Regions from separate parts of the Homo sapiens genome. Here region 1 is linked to region 2. Evidence: promoter capture Hi-C in human tissues and cell types (Jung and others, 2019). All regions are on one chromosome and are shown on one strand. The core of a region is centred on a gene start or on the middle of the fragment in contact, and the rest is flanking DNA. Distances in the headings are between cores, read along the strand shown. Region 1 has its middle 81 kb from the start of GFRAL. Region 2 holds the start of LRRC1 (leucine rich repeat containing 1).

Region 1 (5,616 bases), core at 2,862-5,361, 1.6 Mb after region 2:
TTCTGCATATTTACCCACAGCCTCTTTTCCTTCACAGAATCCTTTCCATAAAACCCACAGGTGTTCCTGGGACCCGGGAGTCAGCCGAGCTGTACAAGCTGGAACTCTGCAAGGTGAGTCAGAAAGGTCTCTCTGGAAAGGGCTTTAGGGCAGTAGGAAAACAGGGACTTTGTGGTTACTCCAAAGCTGAGGCTTGCGTCTGTTCCTACTTTTGAATTCCCTGTGAGAGTCCTGAGAAACAGATCTTGGGGTTATTAAAACATGCATCCTTTTTCATTGCCATGTACAGTGAAATGAATACAAATGACTTGAGTGAATAGAATATTTTTTTATTTTTTAGAATAAAAATATTCTAAATTTTTCAAATTGTGAGCTCAACAAATGCAGGAGTCAAATCTGAGTGACTAATGGTCAAACGATGGCACCACCGCTTTAAAGGCAGTGCCGGGTTGGCATGTACCCTGTATGAACCAACAGTGCAATTTTTACATATCCCTGTCTGCTTGCTCTGTTCTTTCACAACGTGTTCCCCCTCAGAACTCTGAGATGAATACCATCTGGGCTGCAATGATTTACTGCACTGGAGTTTCTCAAGTTGTTCCCAAAGTGCCTCTTTGAGGCTTCAATGTCTATTCAGACCACACTGATTGCACCCCAAAACTTAGGGTAGTAGAATTGGTGTTTCCAAAACCTTAGACAAGTCAATTGCAATAAATGTATCTTTAATAAGGGTTTCCATAATACAGTTGTTTATAATCTTGGTTCTACTAAGAAGGAAACATGCCTTTAAAACACAGTGGTTTAAAATTAAATTTTGGCAATATTGTCAGATTCAAATATTTATTTAGGGTGGCAAACAGTCAAACAAAATTACATTAAAATATTTTTGAGATTTCACTTGATTTTTCTAATGTAAGTTACATTGCTGGTTTTGCAGAAGTTACATGACTGGTTTTGCAGAAGGTCATTATATTTTTATAATGGTCAGTATAATTAAATGCTTAGTGAATGCTTAATTCCATGTGTTACATTCTTTTTTTTTTTTTTTGAGACGGAGTCTTGCTCTGTTGCCCAGGCTGGAGTGCAGTGGTGCAATCTTGGCTCACTGCAACCTCCGCCTCCCGGGTTCAAGCGATTCTCCTGCCTCAGCCTCCTGAGTAGCTGGGATTACTTACAGGTGCCCGCCACCACGCCTGGCTAATTTTTGTATTTTTAGTAGAGATGGGGTTTCACCATATTGGCCAGGCTGGTCTCGAACTCCTGACCTCATGATCCACCCACCTCGGCCTCCCAAAGTCCTAGGATTACAAGCTTGAGCCACCACGCCTGGCCACATTCTTTCAATACTTGGAAACAAATGTAATTTTTACTCTTCTGCCTGAAAATTCTAATTTAGTGAGTATTGAAGATACTATGCCTCTTAAGAGTAGCAGAAGGTATTAAAAAGGAAATGTAAACATAAGAAAAGGAGTAGTCATAAATTCAAAGGTGGAACACATATCTACAAACATCACATACTCATTACAATATAATTATTTTAATCAGTGGGATTACAGAAAATAGTAAAAGCAACTAAACTATATAAGATTATTCTACATGCTTTACATACATTATGTAGTTTAAGTCTGACACAAACTCTGTGCCAATTGTCTATTTACAGAATTAAAATAAAAAATAAAAAACCCGATAAAGAAGTTAAGCAATTTCCCAAGCTTCAGAGCAGAAAATTGGTAACTGAGGACAGATATATCATATTTCAGAATCTTCCATCTTAATTTCTAAGCTTTATCACCAGCCATCTCCAACTGTAATTATGTAATTCTTATACTTTAAAAAAGGACCAGGAAAGATCTATTTTAAATATTCTTCTCTAAAGTATTATTGTTATTAACTTGCATGTCTGAATCACATGTATGAGGTGGAATACTTTTACCTGAAATTAAAAATCTTAATAAAAAATACATAATTCCTATAACATAAATTCCAGATGAAAGCATCTATAGGATTGGTGAACTTAATGGCTCAATGAAATCTTCAAGGACTCGAATTTTTCTTTTCTGCCATGCTTACAGTTGCTGAGTGGATTGTACAGTTCAGGATTTATTTGAAGACATAGAAACAAGGGAATTCAAATTACTATAATTGACTTAGTCTAGTCAGAATTGACCCTGAATTACCTAGGAGAAGGGTGGACTCCCAAACAAAATCCATTAGCAAGGATGAACAAGAGAGGGCTTTTGGGTAGGTAGCCAATAGTTTATGCTACAAAAGTCTAGATTAACTTCACCAATTAAATACAAAGTAAAATGGCTTCAAACAAGTAAATCAGATTACTTGGGTTTAAGTTATACTTTTCATTTTGTTATTTGGAACTAAATAGTCCACACCTAAGACAGTGTTTCTCTATGTTGACATCTATGGAAGTGCTCAAGTTCTACCAATTTAGGATTTTCTATTTACTAATGAACAAAATTTGTCTATTATGAAAAAAATGTTGACTGTTTTGTATTAGCAAAATAAATATCACCTTTTAATGAAAACTTTTCCAGATACTTGGAGATCATTCATTCATTGAGAAGGAAAGAGATTAAAGGCTATGCAGCTGACAGTTGAGTTGCAGAATACAGTGAGTAGTGGAGGAATCAACACTGCCTGGGTTTCTCCTTGATATGATTTGGCTGTGTCCCCACCCAAATCTCATCTTGAATTGTAGCTCCTATAATCCTCATGTGTCATGGGAGGCACCTAGTGGGAGGTAATTAAATCATGGGGGTGGGTTTTTTCCATGATAGTGAATAAGTCTCACAAGATTTGATGGTTTTATAAAGAGGAGTTCCCCTGCACACACTCTATTACCTGCTGCCATGTAAGACATGCCTTTGCTCCTCCTTCACCTTCAACCATGATTGTGATGCCTCCCCAGCCACGTGGAATTGTGAGTCCATTAAACCTCTTTTTCTTTATAAATTATCCAGTCTCAGGTATCCTCATAGCAGCAAGAAAATGGACTAATACACTCCTCTTTTCTGAGAATTCCATTCCACAAAAAAGTACTGTTTAGACTACTTATCTATTGGCTAGACACCTTTGCCTTAGTAGCTCAGAAAGGGTAAAGGAATAAATGTTTCCCAGGTAGTAAAAAAGATATGCCAAATCAGTGTACCATTAAGAACAGGAGGGGAGTGTTTAGAAGCCAAAGCTGAGATACAATATATAAAAGGAAACAATGGGAAATAACTTCTAAAAAGTGGAAACTTAAAATAGTTGTTTGTTAGGCAGTCTTCACAGATACCCTATTCTCTTGGATGAGTCAAAATTAGTCTCTGCAAATAAAAAGTGATAGGAATAAAATATTAGAATTTAAAGATATGTAGTAGGAAAGGAAAACAAAATGTGTTACTGCCCCTAACATCTCAATAATAGAGAAAGAACATGGAGATAAGTTTTGAGGAGTTTGACAGAATGAAATGATAGATTGGAAGATAAATATTTATCTAGCATTTTCTTGATTGCATTGAAACTTGATGGAACTGGGGATGGGGTATAGGGTAGTAGTGAATAGAACTGGGAGTCCTTATTGGCAGCAATATTGAAATACAGGTGTATTGTTTATTATATAATGAAGTATTTTTCATATGAAGTAATATATTCTATTGTATTTGTTCATATTTTAACCATGCAACTAGGTAATAAAGGAAACAAAGTGTTGTTCTATATAATTATTCATTTACTTTATCATCTTAGAAATACTGCAAATTTCTTTCATCATAGTATTAATCTTTTTCTGTTTTTCTTCTTCCTTTTCTCTCATCTTGTTTTCCTTTTTTCATAACAGGAGGGGAACAAGCTCAGGAAAGTTAGCAACAGGCAATAAATAGAATGCTCTGAAAATAGCTAACAAGTTTAGCTTAACTTTTTTGTTTTTATTTTTTGATATGGAGTCTCGCTCTGTCCCCCAGTCTGGAGTACAGTGGCTCCATCTCAGCTCACTGCAGCCTCTGCCTCCTGGGTTCTAGCAATTCTCCTGCCTCAGCCTCCTGAGTAGTTGGGATTACAGGTACCCGCCACCCTGTAGGGCTAATTTTTGTATTTTTAGTAGAGATGAGGCTTCACCATGTTGGTCAGGCTGGTCTTGAACTTCTGACCTCAGGTGATCCACCCGTCTAAGCCTCCCAAAGTGCTGGGATTACAGGCGGGAGCCACCGTGCCCAGCTTAGCTCAACTCTTCTAGTCATTTAATACCCAATTATCTTTCACAAATACATTTTGATGGAAATAAAGCTAGTGACGCTTATTGATGTAACAGATACAGGAAATAGGGAAAACCTAGAATTCAGTGTGGTTACACAAGATTTTTTTTTCTTTTTTTTTTTTCTTTTTGTTTTTTTTGAGATGGAGTGTTGCTCTGTCGCTCAGGCTGGAGTGCAGTGGTGTGATATCGGCTCACTGCAAGCTCCATCTCCTGGGTTCATGCCATTCTCCTGCCTCAGCTTCCCAAGTAGCTGGGAATACAGGTGCCCCCACCACGCCTAGCTAATTTTTTTTTGTATTTTTGTAGAGATGGGGTTTCACTGTGTCAGCCAGTATGGTCTCTATCTCCTGACCTCATGATCTGCCCGCCTTGGCCTCCCAAAGTGCTGGGATTACAGGTGTGAGCCACCGAGCCAGGCATTTTTTTTTTTTTTTTTTTTTGGCCTGGAGTAGAGTGTGATTAGCTGAAAAGGAAAATATGTGTTTGATCTTTTTGTTTTTGTTTGTATCCAGCTGTATTTTAAGGTAGACGTAATTGTTCAAATATTTTTAATTGGCAGCTTTTATATGAAAGTAGAGACCCATAATAAAGTCAACCTCAAATGTATGAATGTTATTTAAAATCACGACAATAGAAGAAACCACATAACAAAAAAATGTGAGAAAAGATGGAAAATGACCAAAAAATGACTTGGATGATTACAACACTTAGTGGTCTGGAAGAAGAAGGTGAGAAAGTGAGAAAGCAAGGCTACTATAAATGGGTGGCTAATGAGAAATGAAAGCTAGCAGAAATAAGCCAAAAGTGTAGAGATTTTCAAGATGGAGAGCATGTTCAACAATGTCGGATATTGCCAAGAGACTGAATAAAATAAGGTCTAGAATTTAATTTTGGCTTTGGTAGAAGGAAAGTCACTGAGATCTTAAACAGATCTTATAGATGTGGTGGAGACAGAGGCCCAGTTGCAGTAGATTGAAGAGAGATTGAGGAATGAGGAAATGAAGGCAATGAATACTTACAACACTTGTGAGAAGTTTTGCACTCAAGAGGAGCATTACAATGGGTGTTTATGTGGAGTTTCTGTAAAGTATGAGGTCATCAACAGAATTGAGAGGAAGATGTTAGAGATGTGAGAAGAGAGAGAATGTGAAATGGTTATCTTGGGGAATAGATAAATTTAGTAGGGAGTATAGGAGAAGCAATATTGCTAAGCCTGCCTGCATTCAAATCCTCACTGACTCACTTGTTTTATAATTTGAGTCAACTTACCTAAATTCTCTGAACCTCAGTCTTCTCAACTAACAGCGATATGTCCTGTTAATTTCCCTAACAAAGAAATTAATTGCACTTACCTTACAGGGTTT
Region 2 (5,303 bases), core at 2,426-4,925:
GACAGTGTCCTATGCTGTTGTCCAGGCTGAGTGCAGTGCCCAGCTCACTGCGGCCTCAAACTAACTAGGAGGCTCAAGTGATCCTTCCACCTTAGCCTTCTGAGTAGCTGGGACTACAGGCATATGCCACTATGCCAGGCTAATTTTTTATTTTTTGTAGAGGTGGGTGTCTCCCTATGTTGCCCAGGCTGGTCTTGAACTCCTGGCCTCAAGCGATCCCTCCACCCCATTCCGCCTGGGCCTCCCTAAGTGTTGGAATCAGGTGTCAGCCACTCTGCCGGGCCAAGTTGCTCTATATCTTCAGTAACATTTGGGATTGTCTTTTTTTTTTTTTCTTTAATTTTAAGTCATTCTAGTGGTTAGGCGGTGGTATGTCACATTAAAATTCACATGCCCAAACCTCTGAATCCCCATTTACAAGAATCCCTATCTTACACGCTAACACTTTGGATTTTCACTTAAAAAAATTAATGATATCATGCTCAAAAAATTAATGATAAAGCAACAACAGACCACTAAGTATTTATCATTCTCCTAACTTCAGAGAGTAAGCTTCATGAGGCTAAGACCTATCTTGTTTTTCTTACATTTCTAGTATCTAGCACAATGCCTGGTGCATAGTATGTACCTTTATTAGTTATTTGTTGCTGTGTAATAAATTACTCCAAATCTTAGCAGCTTAAAGCAACAAACATTTACTGTCTCACATAATTTCTGAGGGGCAAGAGTGGGGAGCAGCTTAGCTGAGTGGTCCTGAGTCTGAGGCTATCATGAGGTTTTAGTCAAGCTATCAGCTGGTGCTGCAGTCACTTGAAGGCTTGACAAGGGCTGGAGAACTGGCTTCCAAGATGGCTCACTCACATGACTACTGCCAAGAATCGTCAGTCCCTTGCTAGTTGTTGTCAGCAGTCTGCAATTCTTTGGCATGTGGAGCTCTAGATTTGCTCAACATGGCAGCTGGCTTCCCCAAAGTGAGTGATTCGAGAAAGAAAAAGTTGGTTACATAGACCAACCAGGAGATGGTGGATGTTGTCCCTAACTTCCTGGAGGCTGGCTAATAAAGTGCATAATTAATATTTATTGATTAAAGTAATGTGTGTCTGATACTGTACTAAGCATTTTACATATGTCATTTCATTTAATCCAGATAACAATCCCATGAATCATCCTCATTTGAGATATGATAAAACTGAGGCTTATACAAGTTAAGTAAACTGTCAATTTCTACGAAGCTAGTGGCATAACAAGAGTTCAAACACAGATCTCTTTAGCTCAAAGGCTGTGAAAACATGGTTCACAGTACAAATGAATAAAAGAATTACATTATTCTAAGAATAAAGTGATTTAGGTGGTCTTTTTAAACTTTGTTTAAATTGAGTCAAACTCATTTGTATGTGGCGGAAGAAACTAGATGTTTTATCAGGCGGGAAACCCTAAAATTCTTCAGGTGAGTAAAAAGTTAATTGCTTCCCTATTCTGTAGTTGACAAGGTGTTGTTTCATTTTTTCTCTCTTACTACGCTGTTTCAAATTCTTGGCAGATTATTGGAAACAAGGAAAGTCAAGAATTCTCCCAGTGACTACCCATAGAATTAAATCAACAAAAACTGTTGATCATTGACTGTGCATATGGCACTGTGGCAGCTTCCCAGATCTACAAAGCAAGTGAGACAGTATCTGTTGTTTAAGAGGTCATAATCTCTTTCGGATTAAGGTGATACAAAAATAATAACACAGAGAAGCTGAAGCATCATGGAGAGGCACACAAGGAATGCTTATTGAGGTCTGAATTTTTAAAAGACTGGACACGTCTTTAAAATACATTTGGTGTTCGTTAAAATAATCTAGTGTGATAACCTCTGGAAATCACATTATTTTAAATGGAGGGAACTAGCCTTCTTTAATTTTTTTTTTAAAAAGCAGTTGGAAAACTTGAAGACAGGGACTTACTTACCTTTCCACATGTCTCTGTCAGGAACCAGTTTTCTAGGAAGGGTGGCAGAAATGAGCTTCATATGTTTCTGGAATGCAAGAATGTAGAAAGGGGGGTGGAGGTTCAAAGTCCAGGTAGCCCTCTGTGAGAACGCAGGAATCAAATCAGGACAAACAAAAGAAGGGTGAAGTGGGTAGGGCAACGGAGTTTCGGGATTGACTGGAATGAGAGTTAAGGTGATAATGCTGGGGTGGAAATGAAAGTCAGACCCCTCCTTACGGACTGGGAAGAAAGGAGCCCTCCTAGTAAAGTTGAAAAGACCAAGTGTCCTCTTCTCCATTTCACCGGGGAAACGCTCCTGTGCCTAGTCGTAAGGTACAGGAGAGTCTATGGAGCCCATGGAGAGTCTAATGCAAAAACTAGTTTCCGACCAAACTTTGCCTTGGCCACTGAGCATGCTCAGCTTTGTCTTCTATAGAAAAGTGAACTCCGTGGCTCCAGATTTTAGCTATAGCAGCTGGAGGGCGGGAGTGAGTGTGGGAGAGCCAGCGTGGCAGCGGCCGCAGGTGGAAACCTGGAGTTTGAGTATGCTTGAAAGGGAAAGTGTGGAACGAAGGGGCGGCCGGGTGGGGAATCAGAGAAGCCCCCAAGGAAATGATTCATCATTGTGATTGACCTTGACTTTAGCAACCCTTCATTAAAGGAGAAAATTTGGTTATTCGGAGATGGGGACTGTGTTGCAAACAGTTACAGGCAAAGAGGGGCAGTTCAGGATTCCGGCCGTGGTCCGCAGGAATGAGTCGGGGCGAGGGAATGGTTGTTATAACCCAATAGTGAGCCTCCCCGGTCATCCGGGCTGGACGGGACTGGGGTTGTAGCAGAAAAGCAGGAGCTGTATGGAGGATGCTCACCTGGCAGCCTCGATCTGCCCCTCTTCCCTCGCTCCTCCCTCCGCACCAGCCACAGCTAGTTGTCAGGGGCCAACATCTGGGCCGGGCTGGAACTGGCTCAGAAACTCGCGTTTGCCTGCTTATTTCTGCAGCTGGGCTCCTTGCCAGGTGCAACCACATCTATGAGAATCTCGCAGACTCTCAGACTCCTATGCCTTTGCTGGTACAGGGAGGAGGATTTACTATCACTCACTGCATAAACCATGATCACCAGAGATGTGCTCCCAAGTTACAAAGCCTGCAGGCGGTGCCCGAGGACCAGAGGGCCGGGCGCGGCCAGCTCACACTTCTGGGGCAGCCGTGAGCAGCGGGCACACGGGCAGCCACGAAAGCAGCAGCGAGGGTGGTGCAAACACCTCAAAACTACACCGAATCCAGTAGCGCCTGGCGCCCCCGGCGCGCAAGGTACGCTTTGGGGCGGTCCTGTGTGACCCCGGAAGAGAAAGTTGTTTTGGGGAAGGGGAGCAAGGAGAGGAGTGCGAGTTAAATAAAACTAAATATCAAAGTTGTTCTGCTCTGCTCAGGCCGCCTCTACTCCGCCTCATCTTTGTCCCAAGTCCTTTCACAGTCTGCCTTCCTCAAACGGCCCGATGCGCCCCCGTCTTTGCCGGAGTAAGCAGACCGCCAGCAGCCGGCCCGCAGGTCAGTCGACCCTCTCTGGATGCAGGTCGCCGGGAAAACCCGGAGCGGAGCATCCCTCGGGCCGGGAAACGCCCTCGGCGCGCACCCACTGGCGCGCATGCTCAGTCCGCGCGGCGGCTGCGAGTAGGAAGCTCCGCGCGGCGGCGGGGGCGGCGACGGCGACTGGCGGGTGGGAGTGGAGGCACCGGCTGGCGGGCGGGGGTACAGGGACGGGGCAGGGGCTCCCGCTCCAGGTTCCTTGAAGCACTTCCGACCGCGAAGCCCGGCGCGAGAAGCGAGCTAACCCAAGAGCCAACAACGAGCGCGGAGAGGGCAGCGGACTGAGCGGAGCCGCCGGCCAGAGCGGGCTCGGAGCCCGGGTCTCCGCCGCTCGGGACCCGGCTAGGCGGCGGCGGGGGCGGCGATGTTCCACTGCATCCCCCTGTGGCGGTGCAACCGTCATGTGGAGAGCATCGACAAGCGCCACTGCTCGCTGGTCTACGTCCCCGAGGAGATCTACCGCTATGCCCGGAGCCTGGAGGAGCTGCTGCTGGACGCCAACCAGCTCCGCGAGCTGCCCGAGGTAAGGGTCCGGCCTCACCTGAGCGCTCTGCCCGCTCGTCTGCTGTCCCTTCCGCTCCCATCCTCTCTCGTCCCCTCTTCCATCTCCGGGTCCGGCGTGAAGGAACCTTCCCTCTTTTATGCATTCACCTGCTTCTTTCTCCCCCTGTCTCTTTACTTCCATCCTTTCCCAGTAAAAGTTCCTTTTCATTTTATTCAAAGTGACCGGATATTTTGCGCGTAGTCACTGGGGCTCGTGCTATTGGAGAAGCGTTCTGGACTGTTAAGTAACTTAGATCCATGCTAGGTACTGACACCTGGCACTTGTGCCCGGTCAGGTGAGAAGCCGGGTGATTCGGGCTGTTTCCATCTGGAAGCTACAGAGCACTGCATCCTCCCCCCCTCCACTCCCCGGGGTCGTTCCCCCACCAAGGGCCGGGCGCGCCTCTCCTTTAGTCAAGGCATGTCCCGGAGGACCTTGTGACCTGGGCAGCGCTCAAGCGGGCCGCACTATCTCGGCATCTTGGGAGGAATGAGGAATGTGCTCCGTGCTTTATCGCGGGTGGGCTTGGCCGGCTGGCCTGCGGTGGCTGCGGGGGTGGACGCGAGATGGGCGCAGGGGAGAGCTGGGCCTGGAGCGCTAGGGGCAGGTGCCCAGATGCCGGCCGCCCGGGCCTTGCCTACGTGGACCTGTTGCGTGGTGGGAGCTGCGGTGAACGTCAGCGGAGGCTCTGCCCGCGGGCCAGCCTTGCAGCCGCCTTTCCCGGAGCGGGCACAGTCGTCCTGCTGACTTTCTCTCCTTGCAGTGATGCGTTATCTCTTCAGAGTTGTTTATGTAAATTGATCACTCCATTGCCGCCGAACTTGTCAAGCGACATGTGCTGATGGTGCTTTGACCGAGAGTAGGGGTACAGCGAACTTCTTTCAAGCTTGCCTCGGGAACTTAGCTAGAGTAACCCCTCGGGGAAGGTGTCTCAAACCCAGGTGTGTGCAGGAAGTCGGTGTGCAATAATCCAAAGGTGTGCAGGAAGTAGGGAGACTGCTGGCAGTCGGGGATTGGACCTGTTTTAGGCCTGAGCTTTGGAACGCAAACTTCTTGTTGCCCTTTAGTTAACACAAGCCAAATCATTGTCACAGAAACACTAGTCAAGTGTTCTGACTTGTTAGAATGACCTGATACGTTCTCCAGCGCTGATGGAGCATTTAAACAATAAGAACTGTGTGTTTTTCTCAATATTT

What was found. Contacts are between HindIII fragments. The study calls those that stand out against the background at their distance.
Region 1: a fragment that was not itself captured here is called in contact with the fragment with the promoter of LRRC1 in region 2 in 1 of the 25 tissues and cell types used here (dorsolateral prefrontal cortex).

What each region holds. Positions count from the first base shown.
Region 1 is chr6:55,405,537-55,411,152 of GRCh38, forward strand. No RefSeq gene overlaps it. Among named protein-coding and RNA genes, the nearest start is that of GFRAL, 81 kb to the left of the region's middle. The HindIII fragment of the contact is 5,201 bases long and covers 1,512-5,616 here.
Region 2 is chr6:53,791,330-53,796,632 of GRCh38, forward strand. It overlaps LRRC1 (leucine rich repeat containing 1), which reads left to right and starts at 3,676. Exons shown (of 14, transcript NM_018214.5): 1 at 3,676-4,086. The coding sequence starts at 3,928. It overlaps LOC124901333 (a long non-coding RNA gene), which reads right to left and starts at 2,346. Exons shown (of 5, transcript XR_007059619.1): 1 at 2,212-2,346; 2 at 1,954-2,020. RefSeq lists silencers at 2,367-2,496, 3,542-3,781 and an enhancer at 3,748-4,460. The HindIII fragment of the contact is 7,170 bases long and covers 1-5,303 here.